Regions from separate parts of the Homo sapiens genome. Here regions 2 and 3 are each linked to region 1. Evidence: promoter capture Hi-C in 16 types of primary human blood cells and fetal thymus (Javierre and others, 2016). All regions are on one chromosome and are shown on one strand. The core of a region is centred on a gene start or on the middle of the fragment in contact, and the rest is flanking DNA. Distances in the headings are between cores, read along the strand shown.

Region 1 (4,020 bases), core at 1,113-3,612:
ATTCTGCTAACCTTTTGCAACATGAGTAAGCCCAGTCATGACCAGGCAAGACAGCTGGCTGGGCTTGCTCATGGGAGGGAAATCTTCCAGGCTGCAGCTTTCATCTGGGTTTTGAACTGTGGAAGCCTATCCTTTTCTGGTTTAGGAGGAGGGTAGAACGTTGAGAGCATTTGAGCAGACATGGCTTTCAGAGCCAGAGAAAGTCAAGGGGGAAAAGGCTTTGCTCAGAGACTATGGCTGATGGCTATTAAAGATCACTTCGTTTCATTTGTCATTTTATAGATTAAAAAAATGAGGTAGGCCGAGCGCGGTGGCTCACACCTGTAATCCCAGCACTTTGGGAGGCCGAGACTGGCAGATCACGAGGTCAGGAGATCGAGACCATCCTGGCTAACATGGTGAAACCCCGACTCTACTAAAAATACAAAAAATTAGCCGGGCGTGGTGGCAGGCACCTGTGGTCTCAGCTACTCGGGAGGCTGAGGCAGGAGAATGGCGTGAACCCGGAAGGTGGAGATTGCAGTGAGCCGAGATCGCGCCACTGCACTCCAGTCTGGGCGACAGAGCGAGACTCCGTCTCAAAAAAAAAAGAAGAAAACCCAAAAAAACCACTGAGGTCTACCGGCGACATTATTGGATAGATGACTGCTTTGGGAGTTCCAGTTGAACCCATTTCTATTTCATTAGACTGCTCATTTTTTCTTTTTCCTTTGGCTCTGTTAAAAGAAAAAATTACAAAGAATTTAGTTTAAACATCTTAACTGGCTTTTAGTTCCAATTCTACAATTGGGCAACGCTTCATTCTGTAAAATGGAATGAATGTTCCAATGAGAAGAGGAAGTTGGTATTACAGACAGAAAAGGACCGAGGAAAGCAGAAACAAAAAGTGGATTAGTTGGTAGAAAGTTACTTTTCTTGTAAAGGTTAAAGAACACGGGACTTCTTCATGCCAGCTAAAACTGACCTGTTTGGGGATTTTTGTTTTGAGACAGGGTCTTACTCCAGCGGGCAGGCTGGAGTGCAGTAGTGGCACCATCTAAGCTTACTACAGCCTCAACCTCCCAGGCTCAAGCGATCCTCCCTCCTCAGCCTCCCAATTAGCTGGGACTACAGGCGCCAGCCACCACGCCCGGCTATTTTTTTTTTTTTTTTTTTTTTTTTTGGTAGAGGCAGGGTATTACTATGCCTAGGCTGGTCCGGAACTCCTGAGCTCAGGCGATCCGCCCACCTCGGCATCCAAAAGTGCTGGTATTACAGGTGTGAGCCACCGCGCCCAGCCTGTTTGGGGATCTGGCTAGCATCTGTTTCTCTCCTGATTTCTTGGAAGGTCAGATAAAGATCCTAGCTTTGGCGTGGTAGTGTGAAACTTCAGCATGAGTAACCCCATTTTGGTTTGGTCTGATGGGCCTAATGCAGGAGGTCAGTCTAAACTAACGGTCTCCCATATACATTTTATCTAATAGCTCTGTCACCCTTCCTGCACACCCGGGGAACTCGGGTGCGGCATTCTAACGCCTGCTCAGCATGATTCCACATTTTCTCCAGGCCCATAATCCAGAGGAGGTTGGGCCCGGAGCAGGCTTGCCTCGCCAAGCTCCGGCTCCGTGCGTGTGTGAAGCAGTGCCATGCCTGAGTGGGGAGGAGCCGCGGAAGAGAAAGCGTAAGGCGGCGTGGAAATGGGTGGGGCACGCTAGGACCCGCTCACATTTGTTCAGGGAGAGGCAGTCCCAAAAAGCCTCTCAGGCACACAACCCAGCACAGCAAGGCAGTCACACCAAGGTGGGAAAAGAGGGCAGAAGAGCGCGAGGGGCTGGAGGTGGCGCCCCTGTGTCCCACTCGTTCTCCCTGGGCTGGGAAAGAGAAGCGGTCCCTCAGAAGCGCAGGCTGCGCTAGCTTAGGATGGACGTGGGTAACGCTCAGCTGACTCCCCGCAGGCACCCTATGCAGGGCTTTGTTTCGGGGGGGAACCCGCACCAGCGCGTAAGGGGAGTAGGAGAGATCTACGTGACCCTGGTGCGCAGCCGCGCCCTATCGCCCCGGCCACGCGCCGACGCCCCGCCCCGTCCGTGACGCGTTCGCGCGGGGCCTCCGCCCCATCCCCCTCCCAGGCGGTCCCCAGCGCGCTGCCTCCGCCGTTCCCCGCCCCCTCGCCTCTGAGGCTGCCCGGATAGCTGCCTGATCCAAGGCCCAGCAGCTTCTGCCTTCCGGATCCCCACCGACGGACGGAGGCAGCCCACCTGCAGGACCGGGGCGCTGTCGGTCCACGTGGCCGCTCTGGAGCAGGTTGGAGTTGGCAGCGGGCTGCGCTGCAGGGACAGGCGCGGCGGACAGCCCCGGGGGCAGCGGCGGGGTCCTGTCTGGGAGAGGACAGGGTTGCGGCGGGCGGAACGGTGTCTCCTTCACTTCGCCCTCCAGCTGCTGGAGCTGCAGCCCGACCGCGAGCGTGCCAAGCGGCTTCAGCAGCTAGCGGAGCGGTGGCGGCGGCCCCCCTCAGGACACCACCAGGTACCGCCGCGCCCGCCTCACGCCGACCCAGGGGCCTAGGCCGCGGCGGCCAAGCCGGAGGCCCGCGCCGGACTCGGAGTCGGCCCTGGCTTCCTAAGATGGCCGCGCTGCCCCGCGGCCCCTCGCCCCTCTCTGCCCGGGATCTCCCTTTGGCCCTTTGACCCCAGCTTACCGCACTTCTTGTCCCTCCCGCAGATTCCCCTCTTCCCGCGGCCTCGCCATGGCGACCCACGGACAGACTTGCGCGCGTCGTAAGTAAAGCTGGGATCTCTGCGGGATGGGGCGGCGGAGAGTCGAAGCCTGTCGACCAGAAACCCAGTTTGTTTCCCCCTATCTTTCCAAGAACTTGGAAATTCGGCTGCTTTTGGTGGTCGCCCCACCGTCTGACCACCTCCTCTGCGGAGGAGGGGCTGGGCTGCTGGATTTCAAATGGGGAACAAGGCCCGGGGAGTTGGTCTGTGGCCGCATGGACTTTTCAGCCTTTGTACATGTCTTTGACGTATAGAAGTAAAAAGTTGTTAATTGGGGATTCTGCCTTTGGAGGATCGGATCAATCACTTTTCTAGAGGAAGTAGCAGTCCCTCTTGTGAGAGCGCAAGGTCATTACTTGTGCTCCTAAGGGCGTGGACGTGCTTTGTGGAATGAATGAGCTGGTGTAATGAGCTCAGATTGCCTGCCCTTAAGCAGCACAGCATTGGCCGAGGACTTGAGAGTCACATTAGTAAGTTTGAAGCGCTATTTGATATTTAGTTGATGTAGACATTTGAGTGAAACACACATGGCAGTATTTTTTCCAAGTTTCAATATTTAAATTCCCAGTATTAAATTCTCTTCCCACTCCAGGGTGTTGGTTTTCCCCTCAGCGAAGATATTAAAGGACGTATCAGGGTAAAGGGCCTAGTCTTAGGTTTCGGTTTTATCTAATTTAGTTAAATCAGCTCATCTCAGTGAATTTTGGCAGATACATAAATATCCATACACACAAATACTTGTTTGATTCTTTGTACTTGTCCAGTCCTAGGAAGTGAGGCTGTAGGTAATAGACTGTTTTTCCGTTTTGAAACGAATTCCCCAAGTTTGTATAATCATGGTTATCTGTTTTAGAAATAATTCGTTGGTGGTATCTCCTTTATGGGTCGTTATAGTTCTATTGTAGCTCCTGACCGCATAAAAAACATTCCAACAAATGGGATTGCTTGAATTTTAATATCAGCAGTGGGTCATGCTCTTGTTCTTGGATAGAAGGTGGGAGAATAGAGACATTAACACTGGAATGTTTTTTTTCTACCAGCAATGTGTATTCCTCCATCATATGCTGACCTTGGCAAAGCTGCCAGAGATATTTTCAACAAAGGATTTGGTAAGAACCTTATTTTTAAAACGTTTTAGATAAAGAGTGAAAATGTATGTTTGGGTTGCTTAGCGAAATCAGATCAATCATTGCAAATTGTAAATATCTTGCTGCTTTAAATTTAGAGTTACTTATTTTTTTGAGACAGGGTCTCCCTCTGTTGC
Region 2 (4,105 bases), core at 1,401-3,900, 1.1 Mb before region 1:
AGGAAGAATACATTCAAATGCTGAAGGAAAGGTGTGAATAGAGGGGGAAAAGCTGACATAGGAGAGAGGGAAAAACGGAAAGAGGACCCTGACATAGCAGGAGAGGATGCTACTGAGAGACTAGGTCAAAGGGTTTGCCTTCTCTAAGGAGAAGGAACACTTTCTACTCTTCAGATTGAAGGGAAGGTTTGTATACTTGACTGCAGGCAGATGATGGCTCTCCTTCTCTGTGTAATGGGAGAGAGGTCATTTCCAAAGGGAGAGAGAAGTCCTCTTCTCTGTAAATACCATGTGCTACTCATGAATTGACACAGTACTGAGCTACTTAAAAATATTTAAATCTGCAAAGAACTCCCATAGCGTATGTGTATATGTATTTTTTTTTAAGAGATAGGGTCTTGTTTTGTTGCCCAGGCTGAAGTGCAGTGGACCAATCATAGCTCACTGTAACTTTGAACTCCTGGGCTCAAGTGATCCTTCTGCCTCATTCTGCCTCTACCTCCTGAGTAGCTAGGACTACAACCACATGCCACAAAGCCTGGCTAATGTTTAAATTTTTTGTAGAGATGGAGTCTCGCTATGTTGCCCAGGCTGATTTCCAGCTCCTGGCCTCAAGTGATTTTCCCGCCTCACCCACCCAAAGTGCTAGGATTACAGGCGTGAGCCACCGCACTCCATCTGCCCATAGTATATTGGTTTGTTTTTTTTTTTTTTGAGACGGAGTCTTACTCTATTGCCAGGCTGGAGTGCAGTGGCGCAATCTCAGCTTACCACAACCTCCGCTTCCTGGGTTCAAGCGATTCTCCTGCCTCAACCTCCCGAGTAGCTGGGACTACAGGCACGTGCCACCACGCCCAGATAATTTTTATATTTTTAGTAGTGACGGGGTTTCTCCATATTTGCCAGGATGGTCTCGATCTCTTGACCTCGTGATCCACCCACCTCAGCCTCTCAAAGTGCTGGGATTACAGGCATGAGCCCTACCGTGCCTGGCCGTATATTATATTAAATGGTTAGAAATAAAAATCATAAGATTAAGTAAGAAAATATAATCTTGTTGCAAAGAGAGCTTTCCTAAAGATACGTAAGGTTTTTTTTTTTTTTTTTTTTTTTTTTTTTTTTTTTTTTTCGAGGCAGAGTCTCGCTCTGTCGCTCAGGGTGGAGTGCAGTGGTGAGGTCTCAGCTTACTGCAACTTCCGCCTCCCGGGTTCAAGGGATTCTCCTGCCTCAGCCTACCAAGTAGCTGGGACTACAGGCGTGTGCCACCACACCTGGCTAATTTTTGTATTTTTAGTAGAGACAGGGTTTCACTATGTTGGCCAGGTTGGTCTCGAACTCCTGACTTTGTGATCCGCCCGCTTCAGCCTGCCAAAGTGCTGAGATTACAGGCGTGAGCCACCGCGCCTGGCCAAGATTCGTAAATTAAGATAATTCTTCATTAACCTCATTCACTTCACTTCTCCTATAGTGTCAATTGAAAGTGTCCCTCTGTCTTTCCCAAATTAATCCTTTCACTTGTAACTTGATCCCATTCCTTTCCTTCTCTTCTGGGAGACAAGACTTTTTCTTGAATCTTCAAATAGTTGCTTGCTTCCTGCCCCCAAATAGATATCTTGTATTCTTTAAAACAAACCCCAAACTTTCCCCCACCTTGCCACTCTCAATAATCTTGCTTCATGCCCCAAATGATGAAGGATTGGTCTACACTTGCAGTCTTTCCTCAGTTACTATTAAAGCATCTCTCTCAAACAGCTCAATGACTTTCTAATTATAAAATCCAACGACCTATTCTGATTTCAGCTTCCTCCTCTGACCATTGCAGCATTTTATGTCATTGATAACTTTCTCCTAAACAAAAATACTTCTTACCCTTTTATATGAAACTTCATCTGTTTTGGGTCTCACCTTGAAAGTCTTTCGGGCTTAATTCTCATAATTTTTTTTAAAGTCTTTCTACAATCTCCATGTAAACCACTGTTTCAAATTCGATAAAACTCAAACTCCATAAAATACCTCCTCCTGTCACTGGCACCATCTTCTTAATCACACATAAGGCTGTAAGTTTCAGGTTCAAACAAATCTACCAAATACAAACAGCCACATCGCCCGTCACTCTTCCACACTCACTGCCACCTGCTCAGCTTAGAACCCCGTTACCTCTCTCCTGAAGAACTGCAACACCCTTCTCACTGCATTCCTCACCCCAGGCTCTTCCAGGCACCACCCGCTAACAGGACGTCTGCTCAGGTCCGTTTGGGGTTTTGTCCTCCAAAGCAGAAACCTGGGACTGAGATTCCTGCCGTCTGTACTCCAGCTCACTATAGAGGGGGAACCCAGTAAGCTTGACCTCCGGGGCTCAGGCGCCTGAGAACACTGGGCTGCAGGTGGACCGCTCCCTTCTGGCCTTGCTGGCGAGAAAGCCCGGAAGGCCGGGAGTGGGGGGGAAGCGAGGCCCGGGCCAACAGCACCAAAGACGCTCCTAGAGCCCAGATCGGAGTCGGGGGCCCCAGCTATTCAGCCTACTCCCGGGTTTTGGAGCTGTCCCCAGTCCACAGATTTCCCGCCCCTCACACTCACCCCAACACCTGTGCCAGTCAGTGATTCGGCGCCGGATCCTCTCCTACCGAAGCTGGAGAAGCCGAGAAGGCCGCGAGGACCCGCAGCTGGAGTGCCCAGGAAATTGCCTGATTAACAGCTTCAAAGACACCGACTCTGTCTACCGTATTAGAAATTTTAAATATGCAGGAAGACCGTAAATGAGAGGAAAGACGTCTCTTGAGGCTTAGTATCTAAATCTTCTACATAATCCAGGGCCTAGAAAAATGGTGGGTTTCTCTCCATCTAGATTCAGGCGGTCATCTGCTGCCTAACGCAGTCTGGGGTCCCTCATGGTAGGGGAGGCGGGGTCAGGAATGGGCGGGGCATTCGCTGTTGGTGCCGACGGATAGAGCCAATGATTGTGGATGACAGCGGCACAGAATGGGCGGAGTCTGGAGGGGCGGGATTTGGAGAAGAGAAAGCGGTGATGCGAAGAGGGGGCGGGACCAGAGAGTGGATGGCAGAGGTGGGCTGTAGAGCCAAAGTGGGGTGGGAGCGCGAAGATGGCAGCTGCTGAGGAGGAGCCGAAGCCCAAAAAGCTGAAGGTGGAGGCGCCGCAAGCGCTGAGGTGAGCGCTGCCGGACTTGGGGAGGAGGGTGACGGCGCTGCAAGCAAGCCAGGGCCCACGTGGGGTTGCACGGCCCCGACGCTGGGTGGTGTCTCTCACTGCCAGCTTGGGGCCAACACGCAGGACCTCCCCCAGCTGCCCGCTTGGCCGCGACCCCTTGCCAGACGTTCTCTCCGTTTGGCTGAGTCCCCGCCTGTCTGGTGCAGCTCCGGCTCCAGCAGCCCTTCGCCAGTCGTGGCCCGCAGGGGGACCGAGCTGGCTGACCGCGCCACCTGCGAGCAAGCCCAGGCTGGGCTGGTGCGACCCCGGAGGGTCGGACCGGAGCAGCGTCTGTAGGCGGCCGCCTTCTCTTCCCGGGGGATGGCGGGAAAGAGGCTCGGCAACTGCTGTACACTGGGGCAAAGTCAGAATTCTTGGGGATTTTTCAGAGTGTTGCGGAAGGGCACGTTGACCTTCCTTTTCGTGCACATTCTGAAAGCCCGTACCTTTGAGGACCCTCTACCAGGGACCCAGACCCCTCCGATGCTTTGCAGGGGCAGCATTTGGATGAATGGATAGGAAAGGTTGATTTCTCTTTTTTATTTACACTTTTTGGCAGCAACGGGGACAGTGCTGCCCCTAACACCTGCCTCACATGTGATTGATGTTGCAACTTTTACTTATGAAGAGTCATTTGTTAAAATATCCCTTCCTAATAAGTATAAAGTGAAGCAGGCAGTCTTTGATGATTTGGAAATGTTCGCTGAAAGGCAGCGATTTTTTTTTCCATCTTAAAATAGACATATCAAACTGATTTAAAACTATTAGGACACTCCTGATTAAACAGGACATATCCCATTTCTTCCAGTATCACTCTTCTTCACCTCCAAAGGAAGGAATCACTCACAATTGAAAAGAAAAGGACACTTAGGGGCCTGGTGGTGTGTTCATGCTGCTTTG
Region 3 (4,578 bases), core at 1,924-4,423, 1.2 Mb before region 1:
CCATGGCCTCCCACGTCTTTAATCTAGCAACAGCTCATCAAATCCTCTTGTGCTTTTGAGTTCATTTGTTGTAACTGGCCAGAGAAAACTCTCTGCTTTAAAAGAGCTCATGTGATTAGGTCAAGCCCACTTGGATAATCTCCCTGTTTTAAGACCAACTGTGCTATATAATGTAATCTGATTATGAAAGTAAAATCCCTTATAGTCACAGCCTGGGGATTATGGAGAGTGTGTATATTCGGAGTGAGAAATCCCGGGGGACATCTTAGAATTCTGTCTACCACAATAGGTAAGAGTTAGACAAGCACTGATAGCTTTCTAGGTGGGAAAGAAATGTGGAGAAAAGCTCAAAAGTGAAACTCTACCAGGAATTTCTGGAGACTGTGAATATGTCAGTTTGTGACTGCTCTAATAATGATAATGGTTTCTTTTACTGAAGGTCTCCTAGGTGCTTTACAAATTCCCTTACATCAGCTCTGTGACGGTGCTATTATCCCACTTGCCGGAGTTATATCTCCATCAAGTTGTGAAGCTGGGGTTCTGGCTTGAGCTCTGGATGGCTCTGAATTTATGCTGTTTGCACTGTTTAACCTGCCTGTCTGTGGGTCTAAGGTGGGGAAGCTGAAGGCAGTAAGGTTGGTCTGGACCCAGATTGTGGAGGGCATTGGTGTTAACACATGCTAACAGGCACCAAGAAAGATTTTAGAGGGAGCCAGTGAATGTGGAAATCAGGGGGACGGAAATGGGTATGATTATGGATGTTGGGGAGCACATGGGCTGGATGTGCAATGTGATATTCTTTTTGGGAGGTTAATATGGCCAGTCAGGCATTAAAGATGATTACATGATCAAGCCTCTGAGTCTTCCTGCCAATCTGTAGGAAATATATAGTTCAGAAGAACAAGTTAAACTACACATAAATATACAATCAGCAAAGTGGGGACAGGGTGAGGATTTAACAAAATCATACACTTTTTGGGAGGCTATATATACTTTGGGAGGCCATTTATACTTTGGGAGGCCAAGGCAGGTGGATTTCTTGAGTCCAGGAGTTTGAGATCAGCCTGGACAACATGGCGAAACCTTGTCTCTATCAAAAATACAAAAATTAGCCGGGCGTGGTGGCATGCACCTGTGGTCCCAGCTACTTGGGATGCTGAGGTGGGAGAATCACCTGAGCCTGGGGAGGTCAAGGCTGCAGTGAGCCGAAATCACACCACTGCACTCCAGCCTGGACAATCGGAGTGAGACCCTATCTCAAAAAATAAAAACATAAATAAAAATAAATAAAATAAAATAATTTTTAAAATAAAAAAATCATATCGTTCCATCACTCAACTTTTTTTTTTTTGGACAGGGAGTCTCACTCTGTTGCTCAGGCTAGAGTGCAATGGCACGGTATCAGCTCACTGCAACCTCCACCTCCCAGGTTCAAGCAAGTCTCCTGTCTCAGCCTCCCGATTAGCTGGGATTACAGGCACCTGCCACCACACCTGGCTAATTTTTGTATTTTTAGTTGAGACGGGGTTTCACCAGGTTGGCCAGGCTGGTCTTGAACCCCTGACCTCAGGTGATCTGCCTGCCTCAGCCTCCCAAAATGCTGGGATTACAGGCGTGAGCCACCGTGCCTGGCCCCATCACCCAAATATTTATACTATTAACACAAAGTAATGGGCAGAGAAAACAGCTGTGGTGGTTGTGGTAGGACTAGACAAAAATTTTCATTTGATGTGAGAATCTTTTGCTTGGAGGCATTACTGAAAGTGTTTACCTCAGAATGGGAAAGCTTGGGCAAAAGCGAATTTGAAGTAAGTAAGACGTTTGGAAGATGTCTTTTTTTTTTTTTTTTTTTTTTTGAGACAGAGTCTTGCTCTGTCGCCCAGGATGGAGTGTAGTGGCGCGATCTCCGCTCACTGCAAGCTCCGCCTCCCGGGTTCACGCCATTGTCCTGCCTCAGCCTCATGAGTAACTGGGACTACAGGCGCCCGCCACCACGCCTGGCTATTTTTTTTGTATTTTTAGTAGATACGGGGTTTCACCGTGTTAGACAGGATGGCCTAGATCTCCTGACCTCGTGATCCGCCCGCCTCAGCCTCCCAAAGTGCTGGGATTACAGGCGTGAGCCATCGCGCCCGGCCTGGAAGATGTCTTATACAAAGCGTGAGGGAACTGGATAATTTGGTCTTACCTATCAAAATATAAAATGCATATACTTTTGCGTTTTTCTCTTTCCTGGTAGGCATTTGCGCTAGATAAATACACAGATGCACAGCACAGGGGTAAGTACAATTCATGCAGAATTGTTTTTTAATAGTGAAAACCAGGACCCAACCCAAGTCCATGAGTAGGAAATTGGTTCTGTAAATAGTTTTATTTCATGCAATGGAATATCATGCAGTCATTAAGAAGAATGAGGTAGACCTCTACCAGCAGTGAAAGATAAGGGCATTTTAATCAAGGGCAATCATACCTAGTTCCAGGAAAATGTTTATTAATCTCATTTAGTTAGAAAATATATATGTAGAAGTGAATCTATAGACAAGTCTAGAAGGCTACACACCCAGCTGTTAAACAGAATGTCTTTGAGGAGGGCAGGGGGCGGAGTCTGCGTTTACGTGAATGGGACGCTGCTGTTTCTCAGTGCACCTCTGCTGTTTGAATCTTTTACTAAAAACCTTCCCATGCATTGCTGGGAGGGAATGGAAGGAGTATTTTGAGGGTTTCGTGTGAAGGGAAAAGTTGAGGAGGGGACGTGGGAGACCCCTTGGTCTCATCAAACTCTAGCGCCGCTTGAGGTGAGGAGACCCCGCCCCGCTGAGGTGATTCTGCAGAGGGGCGGAGCCCCCCAGATCCGAGGCGGGAGGCGGCCCGGGGGCGGGACCAGCCGGCTCCAGCGGCCCGCTCCGCTCCCACCATGCCCTTATAAGGAGCGCCCGGCGTTAGGGCTCGGGAATCCGGTAGCAATCCCGGCGGCTCAGCCCCAATCCCAGGCCCCTCCCTTAGGAATGGGGGAGGGGCGGGGTTTGGCGGCGCGGTGGCTGGGGCGGAGCATCTCGAAAAGGGACCAGTAGGAGTGGCGGCCCAGGTCTGAGCTGCGCTGCCATTGGGCGCGGCGACGAGAGGGGGCGGGGAGCCCGTGAGGCTGGTTACGCCGAGGGAAGCCCCGACTCCGTAGTCGCTGCACAGTCTGTCTCTTCGCCGGTTCCCGGCCCCGTGGATCCTACTTCTCTGTCGCCCGCGGTTCGCCGCCCCGCTCGCCGCCGCGATGCCAGTGTTTCATACGCGCACGATCGAGAGCATCCTGGAGCCGGTGGCACAGCAGATCTCCCACCTGGTGATAATGCACGAGGAGGGCGAGGTGGACGGCAAAGCCATTCCTGACCTCACCGCGCCCGTGGCCGCCGTGCAGGCGGCCGTCAGCAACCTCGTCCGGGTGAGCGCGCAGGGCCTGGCGCGGGAGCGGGCGCGGGAGGTATCCCCGGGGCCCCGGCCCGCGTCGCGGCTGCCTGTGGCCGGCTCGCTGGCCGTGGCTTTCCGCGTGGGTTCCGGAGCCAGGCGCCGAGGGTTCGAATGGCCTCTTCTCCGCCCTGTGACCTTGAGCGAGTCCTGAGCCTCTCCGGGCCTCAGTGTCCTCATCTATAAAATGGGAGCAGTCATGAAAAAGGCTGCCTTGCGGGCTTGTCGTGAAGATATGGCGAGGTATTATTCGTGGAGTGCCTCGCGCGGCGTGTGGCCCACAGCAGACACCCAATAAATGAGAGTTGCTGGGATGTCCGAGGGTCCCTGCCCCGCGCAGGCTTCGCCCCCACGTTGACTTCCTCGCTCTCAGCGCCTTTTAGGCCTCCTCGATCTGGCTGTGCGGGGGAGGGAGAGCGGGCCTTCCCACGGATCCCTTGCCTTCTCTTCTAGGGATCCTTATTTGAGCCACGTTGTCCTCCTTTCTAATACTTCTGCCCCTCACCCTGAGACCCGCCTCGCCCACCCCCGCTCCCCAGAGCTCCCTGTATTCCGCCCTTTTATTCACTTGCCTCACTCTCTGTCGCCTCCTCCTCCCTCCTGGGCATTTTACTTATGCTCACTCCTCTGGCACTCTCACACCTTTATGCAGTCATTCGTGACCACAAGCCCGGTTTTTCCTTCCGCTCAGCCCTGCTGCCCTTCCTTTCATTCCCTCCTGTGGACATTTTCACCTGGCGTTACCTGCTGTCAAACGGCCTCCTCCCACTGGGGCCTTTCTAGACTCGGGGGCCCTCCTTGGCCCCTCCTCCTGGCAGGAAGCAAGATGGAGCTGTTGGGAGAGGCCTGTGGAATCTGGGATCTGCCGCCCCTGCCGGAGAGAAGGCTGGGGCATCCGCTCCCCATCCACAACTTTCCTGGTGGCTCTGCAGACCCCTGTAACCCACAGCTGTGACTCATAACCGAGGTGATTCCTGGAGGAGGTGGAGCCCACGTCTGAAATGGGAAAAAAGAGGTGCTGAGACCAGTCTCCCAAGACTCCCCTGGCTAATGTCACACTTTTCTTTCCCACCCTGGGTGGGTGACTCAGACTGGTCCTGCTTGTGAGGAACAATTTTGGAA

Evidence for each region. The method cuts DNA at HindIII sites, captures the fragments that hold promoters and counts their contacts. A CHiCAGO score of 5 or more calls a contact.
Region 2: the fragment with the promoter of AP3M1 here is called in contact with the fragment with the promoter of VDAC2 in region 1 in 14 of 17 cell types (fetal thymus, neutrophils, total B cells and 11 more); the score reaches 28.2 in fetal thymus.
Region 3: the fragment with the promoter of VCL here is called in contact with the fragment with the promoter of VDAC2 in region 1 in 4 of 17 cell types (neutrophils, total B cells, monocytes and 1 more); the score reaches 9.5 in neutrophils.

The regions. Positions count from the first base shown.
Region 1 is chr10:75,208,434-75,212,453 of GRCh38, forward strand. VDAC2 (voltage dependent anion channel 2) reads left to right here and starts at 2,363. Exons shown (of 10, transcript NM_001391963.1): 1 at 2,363-2,505; 2 at 2,701-2,756; 3 at 3,797-3,865. The coding sequence starts at 2,726. RefSeq lists enhancers at 1,686-2,267, 1,998-2,292 and silencers at 1,937-2,246, 2,267-2,636. The HindIII fragment of the contact is 6,617 bases long and covers 1,040-4,020 here.
Region 2 is chr10:74,148,178-74,152,282 of GRCh38, forward strand. AP3M1 (adaptor related protein complex 3 subunit mu 1) reads right to left here and starts at 2,651. Exons shown (of 9, transcript NM_012095.6): 1 at 2,578-2,651. ADK (adenosine kinase) reads left to right here and starts at 3,044. Exons shown (of 11, transcript NM_006721.4): 1 at 3,044-3,166. The coding sequence starts at 3,102. RefSeq lists enhancers at 2,575-2,804, 3,215-3,394. The HindIII fragment of the contact is 5,595 bases long and covers 2,340-4,105 here.
Region 3 is chr10:73,994,943-73,999,520 of GRCh38, forward strand. It overlaps VCL (vinculin), which reads left to right and starts at 3,174. Exons shown (of 22, transcript NM_014000.3): 1 at 3,174-3,433. The coding sequence starts at 3,266. RefSeq lists silencers at 2,783-3,142, 3,473-3,522 and enhancers at 3,203-3,402, 3,475-4,126. The HindIII fragment of the contact is 4,841 bases long and covers 1,785-4,578 here.